Regions from separate parts of the Homo sapiens genome. Here region 1 is linked to region 2. The links are contacts of gene promoters, found by promoter capture Hi-C in human tissues and cell types (Jung and others, 2019). All regions are on one chromosome and are shown on one strand. Each heading gives the region's core, a stretch centred on a gene start or on the middle of the fragment in contact. The rest is flanking DNA. Distances are from core to core; before and after follow the strand shown. Region 1 overlaps MED12L (mediator complex subunit 12L). Region 2 holds the start of MED12L (mediator complex subunit 12L).

Region 1 (2,700 bases), core at 32-2,531, 310 kb after region 2:
GGGGAAGTTGGCATATGCAGAAACCATCCAGCCTTCAGTGATACACAATGAAAACTAGAATTCCATAAAATAACCCTCTAGTTCCACTGCAGAGATTGTACATGAGCTTCAGTCAGTCATGGAATATTCTGTCATGGATTGTCTTATATTTCCTCAGGAATGTGTTAAGACAGTGTTTAACACAGTACCTAGACAACAAGTGCTGAATAGCATGGATATTGTTAAGTATTTTAATGAGATTATTTGATGTAATAATTGTTATAATTGAGTATATTTCCCTATAGCTTTAGTGCATATGGACATGCAGAAAGATGTTTTGGCAAGAAACCTGTTTTCATTCTTCTTGGTTGCAGTCTTCATCTAGGAAAATACAGTAGTCCTATCACCCTGCTTATCCACAGGGAATATGTTGTAAGACCTTCAGTGATTGCTGAAACCACAGAGGACCAAACCTGATATGGACCATGTTTTTTCCTATGTATAGGTACCTATATGATAAAGTTTAATTTATAAATTAGGCTCAGTAAGATACTAACAATATCTTACTAATAGTAAAATAGAACAATTATACTGTAACAAACATGTAAATGTCGTCTTTTTCAAAATCCCTTACTGTGCTGTACTCACCTGTTTTCGGACTGCAGTTTTCTGCAGGTAACTGAAACTGTGGGAAGTGAAACCGCAGAGAAGTGGCGACTACTGAAAAAAAAGAACTATTTCTATTTCTTACTCAATATCCTGTATTTAGATGGGACTCAGTACAATGGTTACACTATCTTTCTGTGCCTCAGAGTCCCATCTATAAACTGGAGCTAATACTATACTGTACTTACTTTATAGGGTAGTTGTGAAGTTAATGATTAAGTATGTGTAAAACAGCCCTTAGAACAGTGGATGGCTCATAGTAAGTGCTCAAAAAGTGTTAGCTGTCATACTTATCGTTGCTGCTTATTAGTATTTTTATGGTTTGTTATTTCAAAAGAAATTCATTTCCCATAACAATATTATTTTCTTAAATATGTTAAGCTTTAAAATAAAAGCATATCAAATGGTTTACTTGTATAATTACATAAATTGCCATTAATAGGATTGGTTTAATCCTCATTTGCTTAGTGGTTACCAATAGAACAAACTCATAAAAAGGAATGTTGTTTTGTCATCCTAATTGTCATTTTAGCTTCTTAGAGTGGTGTGTTTTTGTTCTTTAAATACTGTGATACTTGAGAGACTTATTCCAATCTCAGTGTTAAAAGTATCACTGTATTTTATTTTTCACATATTCTGTTAGAACTATCACAGAATATAGAATATTGGTTATAATGCAAAATGCTGCTTTAATTATTTTCCACTCATTCCTTTCTTATACTCGGTATTTTTCTTTTGACAACAGGAACTTTTTTTCAGCTCACCTCACCATCCCCCTCACTCTATCGATCATCTAGGGAAGGAGCTTGCAGAAGGAATCTTAAGGAATTCCTTCTTTCTTTTTTTTTTTCTTGAGACAGGGTCTCCCTCTGTCGCCCAGGCTGGAGTGCAGCGGCCTAATCTCCGCTCATTGCAACCTCTGCTTCCCGGGTTCAAGCGATTCTCCTGCCTCAGCCTCCCGAGTAGCTGGGACTACAGGCATGCACCACCCCGCCTGGCTGATTTTTGTATTTGTAATAGAGACAGTGTTTTACCATGTTGGCCAGGCTGGTCTCGAACTCCTGACCTCAGGTGATCCACCTGTCTCGACCTCCTATAGTGCTGGGATTATAGGCGCGAGCCACCGCGCCAGGCCTTAAGGAACTTTCATACCCCTCACAATATCGACATCTAGGGAAGGGGCTTGCAGAAGCAATCTAAAGTTTTGACCCAGGAAAAGAACTTTATGCCTTGATTTATGGTGTTGCTTTATCCTGATTTTTTCTTTCAGTATATTAAATTATTTTATTTTTCTTTGTAATAATTCCAGACAGCATATTTTCAAGAGTCCAAAGAAGGATAGACAGAAGATATGTTTAGCTTGAATTGATTCAGACAAATTGGTTAAAAAATGCACTTGGTTATAGGCTCCATACAGATCATTAATCATAAGGATTTTTCAGGACAGAAAAGAGGAAGCTTCCTTTCAGAGGACAGGAATGTGTGCCCAGTTATAGCTAGTATATGTAGCGACCAGTACATGTAGCGACTTGTAAAGAGGTTAGGTTATCCACCGTGGAGCAGGTCCCATCATTTGTGTATCCAAATCAAGGAAATAGGTAATTTAAAGAATGAAGGATGACTGAGTCAGAACCTCCCAGAGCTGTTAGCTCCTTGGCAAAAATGAATCTGTGACTTCATGGGAACATGCTCTTGGATTACCATTTAAATTGAGTAATTACCCTTTGTTCGGTAATTGATCTCCCACCCTAAGGAAATGGTATCACCTTGGAATATGTTTATTTTCTCTATCCCTCCCACTCACTCTTTAATGGTATACATATTTCAAGCATAGAGACGAGAATAGAAAAAATGTAATAATCACTAATGCACTTACTAGCTTTATTAAATAATATTCTTCCATAATGCTGTAGATTATTTTTTTAAAAAAAATTACAGATGTGGATGAGTCTCCTTGTATCATCATTTCCCTCCCTTCTTCTAAAGTGGGAATCCCCATCATGATTTAGCATTTTACTTTCTTATGCATGTTTTTATACTTCTAATCTATACGTT
Region 2 (2,700 bases), core at 103-2,602:
GAGGCTGAGGCAGGAGAATGGCGTGAACCCAGGAGGCGGAGCTTGCAGTGAGCCGAGATCTCGCCACTGCACTCCAGCCTGGGCGACAGAGCGAGGCTCTGTCTCAAAAAACAACCAACCAACCAAACAAAGAAAACAACAACAACAAAAAACTGTCCTTTCTTTCAAACAAGGGAGCTACATTTGATAGATGCCTGTATCACAAGGGCAAGTCCAGCCATGAAATTAATCCCAGGATATTAGTGGAAGAGAAGACCCTGGGGCAAGATGGGGAAGGTGGTCAGGAAATGCCCTCCAGTGAAGTTAGGTAAATGCTCTCTAGAAGTAATTGTTCAGATTAAGGAAGCCAAAAGCTAAACACCTGACTCAGCCTCAAACTGGGTTTGGAGGTGCTCACAGGTCAGGATCAGGAGTGAGGAACTAGCCTCTACCACATTACCTTCACTTTATTTATCTCCTTCTTCCCCCTTTGCTTAAATGTCAACGAACATCAAAGTTGATGTTCAGATTCAACCAGCATTTCCAGAGCACCTACTATGTATCAAAGGCTTCCGGTTAGAATCTGCCTTTACCACCTTACAGAGAGGGAAGGCCGAGAATGCCTCAAGCCGTGGAGAACGTGAGTCCATCAGGCAAGGACAGGTTAGGAACCCAGTCCCTCCAAGTCCAAGTCAGGGAAAACAGGTCAGAAACTTAGAATCAGTCGTGGGTTCAAATTCCGACTCGTTTCGTGGCTTTCGGCAAGTGAGTGGTCCTCTCTGAGCTGGCTCAATTTCTCCATCCATAAAAAGGGTACAGTAAGACCGTGGAAGGTTGTAAGGACCAGAGATTCTGACTATCAAGATCCTGGCACGTAGCGAAGGCTCCATAAATGGCAGCCATCATTCTTGGCCAAGTGCGGGCGCATTCTCCCGGGCACGCCTCCCGCGGGGTCCCTCAGGACAGGCCGAGCCCGCCTCCGCGGCTCCGGTCTCGCAGAGCTCGCGCCAGGTGGCCCAGCATCTTGGTGCCCGCGCCCCGAAGCGAGGAGCGAGGGCGGGTTGGATGACCAAGGTCTGCCCTGGAGGATCACCCCCCCCGCCCCTTCCACGCTCCCGGCGCAGGTGAGGTTTTCGGCCCAGGCCACGGGGACCGCGACCTCTGGGGAGGTCGAGGCGGAGGGTGCAGCGGGGGGCTTGGAGCAGGGCTCCAGAGGGCGCTCCCTCCCTCGCCCAGGTTCACCCCAGGGCCAGCCTCGGCGCCGGGGCCCGCGGGCTGCGCGCTCTGCGGCTGCGAAAACCCGGAGAGGCGGATTGGAGCGCGCTCACCGCGCTCTCAGCCAACTCCTCCGCGGTCCGGCCGCCGAGCTGGGCATGCTCAGTGCGGACGCCGCGCCGCCGTCCGCCAACTCGGAAGCTCGCGCTCCCGGGCCGTGGGGGCGAGAACGCCGGCGGCGAGCCGGCGTCGCTCGCCGCCCCCAGACAGTGGCAAACTTCGCGGCGTTCCCGGAGCTCGTCCGGGCGAGGCAGATACCGCACAAATAAAATCAAATCCAAGTCCCCCATCCCAACCCGAATGATGGAGGCTGCGGCGGCCGGAGTGACCCCGCCGCCGCCAGCCCCAGCCCGCTAGCCGCGGACCAACAGGTAAAGTGTTGGGGGTTGGGGGCGGAAGGGAAGAGGAGCTGGGGCCGTGGGGAGGCGGCGGGCTGGAGGAGCCCGAGACGCCTGCGGGCTGGCTGCCCCCGTCGGCGCTCACAGCCATCGCTCCTCACCCCCTTCCCCAGCCCCTGGAGGGACTGTAAAGGGTTAAGTCGGCCCCACGCCACCGTGAGCACGGCCCCCTCCAGCCGCCGCGACCGCCAGCAGCGCGCCTCGGCGCCTGCCCGGAGCCGCCGAGGGGACCGTAGCTGCGGATGCGCCACTGGAACCTGGCGGGCGTCTAGGAGGCACCGGCCGCTTCCCACCGGCCGCATCCCTGCGTCTCGCGCCCCCTCCAGACCTGCCTCTGCCTGCACTGGCCCGGTCCGTGTCCAGGTGGCGGGGTCTGCGGGGCGCGTGGCGGCGGGGGAAGGGTCCCTGCCGGGGAAGAGAGGCGGGGGCGGTCCGCTCCACAGCTTCTTCCCGGGAGGGGAGGGCCACCCTCGCCTTGGGCGAGCACTTCAGCCACCAGCCTAGGCGCCAAGAAAAGTTTTTTTTTTTTTTTTTCCAGTGCCCCACCCCCACCCCCATCCTGCGCCCAGCTGGGGTGGGTTTGGGTCCATTGGTGAAAAAAGTCACACGTTCCCATCAGCTGCTCCTCCCCCTGGAGACAAGGTAGGGGGGAGCAGAGGAGGCAGGCGCCGCGGAGGACCCTGGCCGACCTCTAGTCCCTCCGCCGCCGCCACCGGAGCGGTGCGTCCCGGGGCTCGAGCGCAGCCGAGTACCCGCCGAAGGCTGTCCCCATCAGTGCGTGTCTGCTGCCGGGCAGCGGCAGCATCCAACCTGCTTTATTCCTCCTGCCTGCAGCGCCACAGCGAGCGAGCGAGCGAGGAGGGGGAGAGAGGGAGTCTGTCTGCAAAGTGCTGCTCCCTGGTGCTCAGAGGCGGCTGCTCCAGCTCCAACTCTCATTCATTTCGCCGGTTAACATGAGAGATCATGGCCGCCTTCGGGCTTCTCAGCTATGAGCAGAGACCGCTGAAGCGCCCCCGGCTCGGGCCGCCCGACGTCTACCCACAGGACC

Evidence for each region. The method cuts DNA at HindIII sites, captures the fragments that hold promoters and counts their contacts. A contact is called where the count stands out against the background at its distance.
Region 1: a contact is called between a fragment that was not itself captured here and the fragment with the promoter of MED12L in region 2, in 1 of the 25 tissues and cell types used here (bladder).

The regions. Positions count from the first base shown.
Region 1 is chr3:151,398,347-151,401,046 of GRCh38, forward strand. The region is part of intron 39 of MED12L (mediator complex subunit 12L); the gene reads left to right. Among named protein-coding and RNA genes, the nearest start is that of P2RY12, 15 kb to the left of the region's middle. The HindIII fragment of the contact is 5,079 bases long and covers 1-2,700 here.
Region 2 is chr3:151,084,312-151,087,011 of GRCh38, forward strand. It overlaps MED12L (mediator complex subunit 12L), which reads left to right and starts at 1,353. Exons shown (of 45, transcript NM_001393769.1): 1 at 1,353-1,625; 2 at 2,487-2,700. The coding sequence starts at 2,616. RefSeq lists silencers at 1,005-1,374, 1,811-2,105. The HindIII fragment of the contact is 7,662 bases long and covers 1-2,700 here.